Linked DNA regions of Homo sapiens: regions 1, 2, 4 and 5 are each linked to region 3. Evidence: promoter capture Hi-C in 16 types of primary human blood cells and fetal thymus (Javierre and others, 2016). All regions are on one chromosome and are shown on one strand. Each heading gives the region's core, a stretch centred on a gene start or on the middle of the fragment in contact. The rest is flanking DNA. Distances are from core to core; before and after follow the strand shown.

Region 1 (2,700 bases), core at 193-2,692, 3.6 Mb after region 3:
ATATACCAATGTCAATTTCCTGACTTTGATGATTGTATCATGGTTGTGTAGTAGAATATCCTTTTTGTAGGGAATACAAACTAAAGTGTATTAGAATGGTGAAGCATTGTGTCAGCAACTTACTCTAAAAAGGTTCAGGGAAAAAAAAAGTTCTTTGATTGGTGCAGATTTTATTATAAGCTTAAAATTGTTTTAAAAGATTTTTAAAGTAAAAGAGAAGAGAAAGGCGAAAATACAATATATGTAGCTTAGAGAAATTCCCTTTGCATAGAAAAAGGATTGGAAGAAACTACAGCTTGCTGAAGCATGTAGGAATGCAGCATGTATGGCCAAACACATGTATGTGATGAGTCATCTGTCTCATTGCCCTGTCAGGATGAAAGAACCTCTTGAGAATATTGCCTTACCCAAACACACATTTTAAAGAAAAAGAGATCTGAGGAACAGAGGACCAAAAAATAGTTGTTCATAGTGCTTATAGGATGCACCATTGTATTATTTTAAATGGTTCTAATGGACTTGACCAGCATTGTGTAATAGAAACCAAAAGCATGGAAAAGTATCTTTAGTCCAGGTGTGGTGGCTCCTGCCTGTAATTCCAGCACTTTGGGAGGCCAAGACGGGTGGATCACTGGAGGTCAGGAGTTTGAGACCAGCCTGGCCAACATGGTGAAACCCTGTCTCTACTAAAAATACAAAAATAAAAATAAAAATAATTAACTGGGCATGGTGGTACACACCCGTAATGCCAGCTACTTGGGAGGCTGAGGCAAGAGAATCACTTGAACCTAGGAAGCAGAGGTTGCAGTGAGCCAAGATCACGCCATTGCACTCCAGCCTGGGCAACAGAATGAGATTCTGTTTAAAAAACAAACAACAAAAAGAGTATATTTAATAGAATATTAAAGTGTGCTCTAATAATGGCTCAAAGCGTTACCACTGTTAGTTCTTGACCAGAAACAAAATCAGTTAAAGTTATTTTAATATCTCTCGTTCTTTTAGCCAAATAAAAGCAGCAAAACTAGTTATAATGGAGTTAATTGTCTTTTCATTGAAGTACTGGCCATGGCAATCTGACTTCTACTTACTTATAGAACCCTTATATCTGAAAAATTCCTTAATTACACACGTAGCTTATGCAAGGCAAAATCCAGCTGAATCTTCACATCTATTGCCACAGAAAGAACTTCAAATGACTTTCCATGGCTGAATAGGAAAACTGCCTGAAAATGCTGACCAAAAAGTTTCTTTGCTAATGGTAAAGAAATTGAAACAGATCCAGTAACGTTGTCAAGGAGACGGGAAAATAAATTAACAAAACAAAGTATAGTACAGTGGTTAAGAGCACAAAGCCTAGAGCCAGACTTCCTGCCTACAAATCTTAGCTCTACCACTGTAGAGTTGTGTGATCTTCGGGACATTACTTAACCTCTCTGTGCTTCAGGCTTCCCAACTGTAAAATGAGGATAATAACAGTGTCTACTCCATAGAGCTTTTGCAAGATTTAATGGGTTGTTTTATAGCAAGTGATTTAGATAGTAATTAGCTCATGGTAAATGATCAGTGAGTGCCAGCTATTATTTAAATTTTTATTATTTATCACTTTTGTATACAGTAGAGCTGTTGATCCCAAAACAGAATCCTAAAGCTATTTCTCTAGGGACAGCACATAAACTACCACTCTACCTTCTGATGTATTTTTCTTAGTCTTTTGAAAATGCTAAATCCTGCTAACCCAAAATAATTATTTTCCATACAAATATTAAAAATGAATTCTAATTTGGGAGGAATGCAGGAGAAACTAAAACCAACATATTTTAAATTTTTATGCAGAAAAAGCAGTTAAATAATTAATTCAGAAAACTCACATAAGATTCTTGTAAATACTTTTTATAAAGAAATCTTGTATTCATTTTCCATTGTATCTTTATACCAACCCTGTAAGACGGGGTAGGCAGATCAAGTAATAGCGTTTTTTTTAAGCTGAAGAAACCGAGGTAAAAAAAAAAAACGGTTAAGTGAATTTCCCACAACTACAAGGAACAGATGTAATCCAGTATTATCTGTAATTTGAATCAGAATCTAAATCCAAATCAAAGCACCGTGAATTGGAAAATTTATGTCATAAAGATTTGGTGGTTAACACACAACTTAGCATGGTTTAAGTTTGTTTCTAGACCACTGTTTGTTCAAGAGACATTTTTTTTCTTAACATAGGCTTTATCCAATCCTAGATATAATACTATCTTTAGAAAGACACCAACCAAAGTTTGCATTAAAGAGTTATTCAGATTCTTCCACGCTTCATAGCCAAGTATCCCAACAGATCCAGTAAAACCAAAGTTTACTCAAAGCAGGTCAATTTCATTGCTCCAAATGATTTGACTAGTTGTGTCAAAGCAAGGAAACCAAGTTAGTTTAGTGAAAAAGTTATACCAATAGTCAGACCAAACTGATCAACTTATGTTGTGTGTTCCTAGCTAATCTGGCTATCATCTGACTAGTTTGATGAATAAAGCCACTAAAAATGGATGATTCTATTTGTATGTGAAGAAAAATAGCAATAGTCTTAAGTTTCTCAGAATACTTTAACATTGATCTCAGACACTTGGGGGAACAATCATGTAAAATCAGATATGCTCTCCCACAACTATAAAACCTGAATAGAACATTGAGAGAGACTGAAAAGAATGAAAGAAG
Region 2 (2,700 bases), core at 131-2,630, 3.3 Mb after region 3:
TTTAAACACATGAAATAATAATATATATTGTTTATGAATACATATATAGAGTAAAAATAGATAAGCTTGCAAGGGAATAATACAGGAATGTGTTCACCTCAAAGTGAATGGGATGAATAGAGAATGAAAGGATCAGGATGCTACTTTAGCAGTAGCTAATTTATTTTTCTTAAAGAGAAAACTTTGAAGCTAATATGGAAAATATTAGCATCTTTTAAAATTTTGATCGTATACTCATGGGTGTGTGTTGCTTTCTTTGCTTGAAATATTTAATAATTACATATATATCTATTTTCAATTTTTTTAAATGATACACTAACTATTGAAACTTCTTCATTGCCATGTGATTGGTCAGGTACACCAAAATATCACTCTCTGTACATCTCTTCTTTGAGATTTAGTTTCTCCCAACCTCCAGTCTCCTGCCTGGGGGTTTGTCTGGCTGCCAGTATATTTGAAACAAAACACCTGTTCTCAGCACACTACCTCAACCTCTCCTTCCAATATGTCTGGCTTCTTAGAGTACAGAATGCAATTGCTCCAAAATATACATCAACCAGTTTTTTTGAGGGCCGGGCTGGACTAATAACTTTACTCTGTGGAATAAAGTAGATATCCAGGGATTCTAATAGCTCTTTCAGGCTTCCAAATAGTCCCTCAACCCCCAGTTGTTGTCACATCATTTATTTCCATCTTTCCATTGACCTGGTTTCTTGAATTTCTGAGTTATTCTAGGGTTTGACAGATGAATCAATTGGCATTTACTAGCACCACTCCCGCACCCCCACCCTCCGCCTGCCCCCGATATGTTTTTAGGTTTCAGCCTCTTCCACTTTCAGGTACTTCTCACCCAACTATGAACTTCCAATCTTAAAAATATATACTGCCGGGCACGGTGGCTCACGCCTGTAATCCCAGCACTTTGGGAGGCCGAGGTGGGCGGATCACCTGAGGTCGGCAGTTTGAGACCAGCCTGACCAACAAGGAGAAACCCCGTCTCTATTAAAAGTACAAAATCAGCCAGATGTGGTGGTGCATGCCTGTAATCCCAGCTACTTGGAGGCTGAGGCAGGAGAATCGCTTGAACCCGGGAGGCGGAGGTTGCAGTGAGCCGAGATCGCGCCATTGCACTCCAGCCTGGGCAACAAGAGCGAAACTCAGTCTCAAAAAAATAAAAAATAAAAAAATAAAAATGCTGGTATCCTGCCAACACTCACCCACTGTTACCTGCCCCCTATCATTCCCTCTGCTCTTGTGGATGTGGATATTTTTAAAAATGTAATTACTGTTATTTTTTATTTTTATATAAAATATTTTTGTATAGTACTACTAGATGCAAAGTTAAGAGAACGTTCTGAAATAAATCTAATAATAGGGTGTTGGAGCACCAATAAAATGTTTGCCCTTAGCTAAGACTTACAGGCAAGCAATGCTTCAAAGTCATGCATCTTAATATGTTTTAAAGTAAAAGAAGTAATGTTCCCCAGCAGATACTTAAGTCTTTTAAGTTTTTAAAGAAGTTCTGTTTAAATTCATTTTCTTCATCCCATTGTTTGATTGTCTTACAGACAGTGAGTTGGCCATTTTAGTGAGGGGTCCAATATATGATTTTCTTGGGGATATCAGAGTTTCCTTTCAAAGGCTAGATTAGGAGTTTCAAACTTGTGGTCTGTAGATCTAACAAGTATTTTGTTTGGTTTTTGTGTTAACAATAAAAATGAATATGCATTTAGGTGAGATGTGTCCCGTCCTGTTCACAAGGGATCCCATACTCCTGACTGCTTCAGTCCCCCCCTTAATTTGCATATTTATGTTATCTTCCTGAACCCTATAGGTAATTTGAGTTCATAATCCCTGTATGGAATTCTCAGTAAACTGAACCAGAGCCTTTCAAATGAACCCAGCCCTCAACAATGATAGGAAAAACTGCTAAGCATCTACATTACAAAGAAATCTGAAGTGATATCTTCCTTTTACAGACACTAACAAAATATAAAAGAAAAGTATGGGTTCGGTAAGTTACACCACAACTGCTTTTTACGAGTACTTTAGACAGTATCAGAGAAACACAGATGCCCTTTGTTCTTAATCCAGATTAGTTGACGAATCAGCTTTAAATATTTAGATATGAGGAAAATACTCTCTTTTTGTTTGGGTGGAACCCTAAGAGTTTCAGTTAAAAGCTGATGCTTTCACCTTGAAATGCCTGTCATCTCCTTTCAGGAGCTGGAGGGGGGCTCCCTGAGGAAAAGCCTGGCCAACAAAGCAAAGCCCAGTGAACACTCAAGTTTTATGAGTTCTTAATGGCTTGAATCACTTGTAGGTGTTTTTAATACCTGCTGTCAGTTTGGAAATGTTTCTCGCTTGGCAACTGGATAAGGATAATAAACTTGCCAAGCAGGCAACTAACTATGCAATCTATTGTTAAAAATATAAAATCCAAAGAAATGGAAAAGCTGTTTAGGTCTGTAGTTTCCTCTCACTAGCACTTTTCAGCCGTAATATTTTTTAAAACCACTTCCTGAAGTTTATTCCCTTATTAAAAGGATTATCAGAGAAGAAATTATGTGGTAATAATCTGGTGCTCTTTCTAAACAACAAAAAGGAGCAATATATGTGAGAAGATATTTATATTATGTGCTTTTAATAACTGTTGCTAGTCACAAACACTTATTTTAATTAAGGAAAAGCTTAGCAGAA
Region 3 (2,700 bases), core at 185-2,684:
TTTCTTTGCAAAGGGTGAGTTAGAGTTCTTTGAATGCTTTTGAAAATAGGTTCAAGATCATTCTACCTACAATTATAATAGCTAAATAACTTTGCCTTCCTTGGACAATGTATTGCATTCTCTTCAGGAAGAAATGGCAAGAGATACAGAGATGATTCCCCAGGCTACCTTCTATTCACTTTGGGAGTTAGTGGAAGACTGCCCTCTTTCCAACACAGTCTCTGATGAAAGGGATCTATTAAAAAGAATTGCGTTGGTTTACACTGCAGATTGAATGGAGCATTAAACGAATGACTGCATTAGTATGACTGCAGTGGGGGTAATGGTCGCCTCTGTAATGTTGTAATAATACTTTCACATACGTGTTATTACACGTATTAATTGTTCCAGTGTCCGTATCTAATTTATCGCGAAATGGTATCCAGCATCTCTCAGGCAAATGCCCCCCTCCCAACTCCCTGTGCCCTACAGTTTTATGCCCCCCGCCCCCGGCAAATGTAAACAGATGAGGAAATATGTGTACTTTCAAATCGTCACCCATGTATCATGAAGGTGGGGGATTACTGCAAATCACTTGGAAACCGCTCCCCGGAGGCGTTTAGCGATACCGCCCACCAATACAGCTCAGATGTTCTTAATTTGATCACCCTCCACCTTTTGGGCTGTAATTTTCCAAACAGGCATCTCTCTCATTTGCAAATAAAAGTTACAAATCAATCCACGGGTACAGAATGCTGACTTCCCGACACTCAATTTCACAGGGTGTCTCTTGAAGAGCTGCCAGGTTGTGACCGATAATGGGGGAGAGGGAAAGGCGGACAGCGAAAGCGAGAGAGAGAGAGCGAGAGCGAGAGCGAGAGAGAGAGCGAGAGAGAGAGAGACAGAGAGAGGAGAGAGAGAGAGAGAGAGAGAGAGAGAGACAGAGAGAGAGAGAGAGAGAGAGATCACTTGCTTCCTTGCTTCCTAAGCCGGGATTTTGCCTGCGATGCGCGGCGAGAGGACTGCGGCGGCTGATTTACACAGTTGGCGCGGAGGAGGGGCCGGGGGTGCGGGGGGGACGCGCTGGCGGAGCTCCGGCGATGGGCTGATCTGGGGGCTCCCGAGCGCCGCTCCCTTGGTGCGCGATTTGGGGGCGGCTGATGGATTTGCATTCAGGTTCCAGCCCTGCGTTTCCTATATTGACTCCTTATACACGACCTGGCGCTCCAGTTTAGGAGGAGACGTTGGTAAGTAACGTGTAATCCGATTTTAGTTATTTCCTAGGCCATTAAAGTGGCACTTTTAAAGCAGGTCAGTCTTAAAAGATGCCGCCGCCGCCGCCGCCGCGAGCGTCTCCTTGGCCTGAAACGTTCAGCAGTCCCCTCCCCCTCCCACCCCCCTCCCCCGCACCTTCTCCCGCTCGAGAAGTGAGGGTGCTTGAATGGTGAGCGGTCAGAGGACTCACTCTCTGCCAACGGTATCGCTTCACCTTCGTGCTTTGCCTGAGATCTCCCAAATCCAAGTGGAATTTGGTGTGCACAGCCATACTGTGTATTTGTATCTTCTCTCCCCCTCTCCTTCTTTCCCCCCACCTTCGCCGTCTGACCAATGCTGGGATCTGAGATCTAGTCGCCCCCTTCCTGCCTCCTTTCCGCCTCTCCCCACCCTTTTCTTCTCTCATCTACACGCCACCAACCCCCACTCCCACCCACCTAAAGGGCAAAGAGCAAAGACACCCTGGAAAAGCAAGGGCTAATTCCATCTTCTCGGATGGAAGGAGGCCTCGGGCAGGGATTGCGCTGTGAGTGACAACCTTTGAGGAAGAGAGAAAGAGAGAAATCCAGAGACTGAGCTCAGGCTCTCGGGAACAACGAAGCTCTCCACTGATCCAGAGCACCGAGATTTTAAATCAAAGGAACCTAGTCCTGGGACACTCACTCTGCCTGCCTGCCTACCAACCATCGAGGGCATAGGGAGCTGTGGTCGTGAGCTCCCTGTCGCTGGCATCGCCGCGCTAGGTGCGCGCCCCGCTCTCCCATTGGTATGCAGCGACCATTTCCCTGCAAGTCTCAAAGGTGGAAACATTTAAACGGATTACAAGCGTGATTCGGTAGCCTTTCGGAAAGTTGGTGGCCAGAAGAGGAGAAGCTACAAGGCTACAGTATGATGGATACAATTCAGCTTCGCAGAGAGTTTGCCCCTCCTGCTGGGTAGCCCCTCGCAGCAAACCTCGGAGATCCTGAGCGCTCTGCACCATAGGTACTCGCCGCCATCCTTTCCTACTTCGCCTAATTGAAACCAGTATTTCTCGTATGTAGGATGTGCATTGTAGAGCACATCGAGTTTGGCCGCGGTGTATTCTGTACGCTCACAGGTGCTAGGGGTTTGTTGCAGTTTTGAATTGGATCAGTTAGGTGTAAGGACGTTGGTGGAAGGAGGGGTACCGGAGACTAACATACCCTCGGACCTCTTTTCTGGGTGAAGACATCGTAAGTAACTCCAACAAATAGGCCAGGTGGCGGAGCGAAGGACCCCTCCCCCAGTGGAATGCTCGCTGGTGTTGTAAGAGGTAGAAGGAAAAAGGCTTGAGCTTTTAATAATTTTCCGTTTCTAAACAGACCATTGTGCGTTTCGCCTGACGACAGCAGATTAGAAAAGGCTCTATAGACGGCTCAAAGCTCTTCAGAAAATGAATGATGCAGCGTTTTAATTATTTGTTCT
Region 4 (2,700 bases), core at 58-2,557, 3.6 Mb after region 3:
TAAATCAAGGCCATACTTGCCTAAAATAGATGGACAGAAATGAGTCTATATCACTTATCCTTTCTGCTGCATCGTGTCAGCAGTTGGCAAGGTATACAATTTTCAAGACTTCCTTGGAGATTGCCTTTGGAAAAAAAAAGTACTGGAGTACATAACTTTTAATCAAAAGTTACTGTGGAAAGCCTTTTTTACTTTCCACAAAGAAAGTTCGCTTTTAAATAACAATACTAGAGTTGTTGTTTATACCAATCCTTTCATCCAAGAGTCACATAATGCTATATAAATGTATTAATCCTCACAACCTTCCTGTAAAGCACAGAGGTAGCAGACTCCCCAGATGCGCATATTGAATTTTTAAAAAGCAGTTTAGTTGAATCAATAGTCTATTCAGAAAGGAAGGTTAAAAAGGCAGGCCTTGCACTGTGTCTTAATAATCAAAAGTCCACTAGGAATTTATTAGACTGTGACCAAAAGAAAAGAAAGAAAAAGACCCCTAAAGCTTTTACACATTGCGTATTTGGCTTATATTAAATGCTATCTTCTGTACTTTCAATGACATTGGAAGATAAAGGGTAATTTAATATTACTAACTTCAGCATGTTGCTATGTGAGTTTACAAATACAAACTGAACATTATCCAACCTTAAAATAACTCTCCTATAGGAAAACTGCAAAGAATCTGTGATTTCATTATGTTATTTTTTTAAAAACAAAAAATTATAAAAATTTATGTTGACTATTAGAAACATCAGAAAATATTCTGATATGTATTTGGGCAATATGTATCAGGAATCTTTAAAATGTTTATACTATTTATCCCTGTAATTTCACTTCTGAGGATTATTCTTATTTTAAGAAAGAATGTAAAATTCAAATAGAGATGTATTATAAGTTTTATAGCATTAGATATAAACTGTAAATTGGAAATATTTACAATACTTTACTAAACAAAAAGATTAAGTATTATCAATCTGACCCTTTGTACATTTATGACTTACTATATATCAACTATGTTCCAGGCACAAAAAATACAAAGACAAATAAGTCATATTTTTCTAAACATGATTCCTGCTTTATAGTGGGTTGCAGTCTAATGCAGAAAAAAAATACATGTAAATATATATGAGTTTAAGTACCCTGAGAAGGGATGTGCATGGTACAGTAGAGAGTCACAAGGGAAAGAGTGTTCAACTTTACAATGGGGAGATGAAAGTCAGGAAAGTTTTTATAAGGTTAACTTTTCATCTAAGTCTTACAATTTGAATACTGTTAGGCAAACAGATTGAAGATCACTACTATCAGTGAATAGGAGGAACAGAGAAGTGGGAGCCAGTACTCAAGGTAACAATATCATAGGACTGAATTGAGGTAGCAGCTCTGGAGAGGAGAGGAGGCAGCCATGGGTGGTACAAGAGAGGTTGTCTTTCAGGACTTTTTGACATGCTAACAGAGGTGAAGGAGTTAGAATGAAGGAGTGAAGCGGTTTCGCAAAACTTTGATTTTGGAAAGAGGAGAATGAAAGACAGAATCCAATAGAAGCAAAGCAGAGAGAAGAAAGAATAGTGGCATTCAGACATAAAGAGTTGGAACTGTCTGAGGAGCATCTAAGTGATCATAGCCAATGGAGAGCTGGGTCTGAAGGGTGTACTTGTGAGTAATGGACACACGAATTGTGGTAGGAGTCACAGGAGAGGATGAGTGCAAAGATTGAAAAGAGGAGCAAGGACTGAGTCCTAGAAGACACCAGCACACTAAGGATTGGGCAGAGAAAGTGTAGCCCTCCAAAAACTGGTTACACAGAGAGGTCAAGGTAAAACTGCAAAGAGGCCAGTGGATTGAGTGCCCCAGCTGTCAGTGGCACCAATTTCCAGAGCTCATTGTGCTACAGATTGTTGGAGGCAGAAGTCTAAATAGAATGGTTTCAAAAGTGAAAGACTGACCTCTTTCAAGAAGGAGGAGAAAGGGCAAGAATTAGAATGAGACATATGCTTAGAAAATATGTTTAAAATGAGAGATTGAGATTGAAGTGATTGAGAGGAAAAGATTAAGGCTATAAAAGAGAAAGGAGAAAAGAGGATAAATACTAAAATGAGGCAGCAGCCTTTCCTAAGCTTTTGACAAATTATATATTTTTGTGGGGAAAAATAATCTACATGACATTTTAGAGTGTTTGTTTGTTTGTCTGTGACGGAGTCTCGCTCTGTCGCCCAGGGAGGAGTGCAGTGGCGCGATCTCGGCTCACTGCAACCTCTGCCTCCCGGGTTCAAGCTATTCTCCTGCCTCAGCCTCCCGAGTAGCTGGGACTACAGGTGCCTGCAACCACACCCGGTTATTTGTGTGTGTGTGTATTTTTAGTAAAGACGGGGTTTCAGCGTGTTAGCCAGGATGGTCTCCATCTCCTGACCTGGTGATCTGCCCGCCTCGGCCTCCCAAAGTGCCAGGATTACAGGTGTGAGTCACAGCACGTGGCCCATTTTAGAGTTTTTAATAAGACAATAAGGTACTTAACATAAGTGAAAAAAGAGAAGGATATAAAATTGAATGTATTTTAGTATGTCGGCTTTGTAAAACAAAACTATTTGCTAAAGGAAAGATTGAAGGGAAATATATAAAATGGCTAATGATGGGTAATTTTGAGGAAAGCAATTTTATCTAACACTTTTCCATTTTGTTTAAATTTCCAAAATAAGCATGAATTAA
Region 5 (2,700 bases), core at 26-2,525, 3.7 Mb after region 3:
CATTTTACCCAATACACAAGTCCATATAATATAAGTTTTCTAAGCAAACCTTTACACACTGATAAATTTTAAATATCCTTTAGCTAGTCTTTGCCACCCTTTCTGTGTCATCTCCATGAATTAAACTAACATGAGAATAGCTCCATTTTGTCAGAAGGCAACCCACCCAAGAGAGTCAAAAACTTGCTGTCATACTCTGCAATTCACACAGAAAGAAGTGACACACATTGATCTGAGATATAGAAGATATTTAGCAAGAATACATTTATTAATTATAAATCCCATTCATACTTTGTATACAAATATTAATTATTATGCTTAAATGGAATGACTAATGCTAATAATGCCAAATTTTAAAAGCTACCTACAAAGTTAATAGACATATGCTCTGAAATACATATAAATATTTTTAAAGGAGGTGCCTTAAAATAGGAATAATAATTGACTAGGTGACTTTTTAAATTTTTCTGTATTATTTTTATAATCTTGAAAAAATGGAAGTTATTTTTTAATAGCACTACTCTGTGTTAACTGACTTATTCCACTGAATCTAAACTACAGGATTCAGGACACAAATTTATGGTGAAATTCCAGAAGTTTCCTCTGGGTACAAAAGGAACCCAGTAAAAATGCTGTCATCCTCAGCACTGACATACACCCCATTCCAATCTTTTGACACCTCAAGCCAGACTTGGTCTCCTGCACTTAATTTCAAGATGACGAGGAGAGAGGCCTGGTCTATTTCCTGACCATAGAGAGTTTCTCTGGACTTGAACTGCTTCTTATTCTGGGCCACCAGACTGATTCGAGCAGGTCGCCCCCTCACCGTAATATGGTAGGAAAAAACATATGTCCCAGGAATAGAGCAGTTAAACTTCCCAGTGACAGGACTGTAATTCCCTTGGTCATTATAGAGAATCTTTTCAAATTTGATGGGGATGTTAGGAGGAGGAAATGGCTTTGACAAACCAGCGCTGAAAGCCGACCGGGGCACTCTAGCCAACTCACCCTTGGAGCCTTTAAAGCCCCGAGAGCCCTTCTTCCCAGTGGGGCCTCGGACCCCTTTGTTGCCAATGTCACCCTTCGGCCCAGTAGGTCCCAGGAGACCAGGAGGACCTAACTCTCCTTTTTCTCCTTTAATCCCTGGATCACCTTTGGCCCCAGGCAGACCATTACGGCCGCTTTTGCCTTCCATTCCACTGTCTCCTTTGCTACCTTTTTCCCCTTTCATACCCCCCTCACCTTTCTGTCCTTTTCCTCCCCTCTCCCCAGAATCTCCACAGCAGCCCTTATCCCCCATCTCCCCCTTCTCCCCCATCTCCCCCTTCTCTCCCTTGGCGCCAGGCCCTCCGTGCAGGCCAGGTGAGCCCATAGCCCCTTGGTCTCCTTTTTCTCCTTTGGTACAATTCCCACATGTGTCTCCCTTGGAGCCTTTTTGTCCTTTCACTCCTCCCAAACCAATGTTTCCTTTATCTCCCTTAGGGCCAGGTTCACCTGAAATGGAAAATTAAAATAATGTTTAAGGATCACATAGGCCATAAACAGCATGCTATTACCACAGAGCTCAAAAAAGTAGAAACAAACCTACTAATTAGGAAACCTGATTCTTTCCTCAGTAAAAACTGTGCACACTTAGGAGGCTCTGACAATGAATAATTTATATTATGCCATGCTCTTAGAAGGGGAATAGTTAATGTTTCCAAGAAACAGTGGCTTATATTCAGATGCCATATATCTAATTCTTTTTGTTTTTTCACTTTTAAGATAATAAAGAATATTAGGACTGTAGTTGTTCGTTGTATTCCATTACCCTTTGCATTTTGGCCTAACCCAGGTATTCCCCTAAATCCCCATATTGTCCATTCAAGCCTAAATTATTATTGGCAAGGAAACTGAGACCCAGAACGAGTGAGGGATTTTTATTTTCCATTGACAGCTAGAGAGAGAAGCAGAGCACAGATACTATTACCTGGTCTCCAAATTCCTAGACTGGTTCTCCTTCACTGAGTCAGTACACTGAATTATTAGAAGAATAACAGTAATTTGTATTTTCAGCTTACCTCTCTGATAATTTTAAATACAAGCAGGAAGAGAATGAAGGGCTATACTGCGCACCTGACTGTACACAGTAGATACATTTCATGCTCTACCTTGTGCTCCCGGTTTTCCTGGGTATCCTGGAACTCCTTGGTCCCCACGTTCTCCTTTGAGTCCTAAGATGATACCAAGATTAACTTTTTACCAACTACATCATTTATGATATATTTAATATTCCTCTCACAACCATGTCACATTCTAGTGTTTTCTTTAACCAAAATGGGCTAAAGTTAAATCGTGTGGAAAAAGAATGTACGCCAGGCACGGCGGCTCACTCCTATAATCCCAACACTGTGGGAGGCCGAGGCGGGTGGATCACCTGAGGTCAGGAGTTCCAGGCCAGCCTGGCCAACATGGTGAAACCCCATCTCTACAAAAAATACAAAAAATTAGCCGGGTTTGGTGGTGCACACCTGTAGTCCCAGCTACTTGGGAGGCTGAGGCACAAGAATTGCTTGAACTCAGGAGGTGGAGATTGCAGTAAGCTGAGATCACACCGCTGCACTTTAGCCTGGGTGACAGAGTGAGACTTGGTCAAAAAAAATGTATTGAGGGTCATTAGGAATAATTAATTTCAACTGGTAAACTATTTTAGCGATCTGG

What was found. The method cuts DNA at HindIII sites, captures the fragments that hold promoters and counts their contacts. A CHiCAGO score of 5 or more calls a contact.
Region 1: a contact is called between a fragment that was not itself captured here and the fragment with the promoter of SLITRK3 in region 3, in 3 of 17 cell types (endothelial precursors, M0 macrophages and M1 macrophages). The highest score is 11.6, in endothelial precursors.
Region 2: a fragment that was not itself captured here is called in contact with the fragment with the promoter of SLITRK3 in region 3 in 1 of 17 cell types (M2 macrophages); the score reaches 5.3 in M2 macrophages.
Region 4: a contact is called between a fragment that was not itself captured here and the fragment with the promoter of SLITRK3 in region 3, in 1 of 17 cell types (endothelial precursors). The highest score is 6.4, in endothelial precursors.
Region 5: a fragment that was not itself captured here is called in contact with the fragment with the promoter of SLITRK3 in region 3 in 1 of 17 cell types (M2 macrophages); the score reaches 5.4 in M2 macrophages.

The regions. Positions count from the first base shown.
Region 1 is chr3:161,547,107-161,549,806 of GRCh38, reverse strand. No RefSeq gene overlaps it. Among named protein-coding and RNA genes, the nearest start is that of OTOL1, 52 kb to the right of the region's middle. The HindIII fragment of the contact is 2,520 bases long and covers 183-2,700 here.
Region 2 is chr3:161,859,623-161,862,322 of GRCh38, reverse strand. No RefSeq gene overlaps it. Among named protein-coding and RNA genes, the nearest start is that of OTOL1, 360 kb to the right of the region's middle. RefSeq lists an enhancer at 1,969-2,535. The HindIII fragment of the contact is 2,625 bases long and covers 68-2,692 here.
Region 3 is chr3:165,195,118-165,197,817 of GRCh38, reverse strand. SLITRK3 (SLIT and NTRK like family member 3) reads left to right here and starts at 1,434. Exons shown (of 2, transcript NM_001318810.2): 1 at 1,434-2,238. The HindIII fragment of the contact is 7,642 bases long and covers 1-2,700 here.
Region 4 is chr3:161,573,904-161,576,603 of GRCh38, reverse strand. No RefSeq gene overlaps it. Among named protein-coding and RNA genes, the nearest start is that of OTOL1, 78 kb to the right of the region's middle. The HindIII fragment of the contact is 1,612 bases long and covers 502-2,113 here.
Region 5 is chr3:161,501,820-161,504,519 of GRCh38, reverse strand. OTOL1 (otolin 1) reads right to left here. Exons shown (of 4, transcript NM_001080440.1): 3 at 2,151-2,213; 4 at 578-1,494. The coding sequence ends at 578. Among named protein-coding and RNA genes, the nearest start is that of OTOL1, 6.4 kb to the right of the region's middle. The HindIII fragment of the contact is 6,905 bases long and covers 1-2,700 here.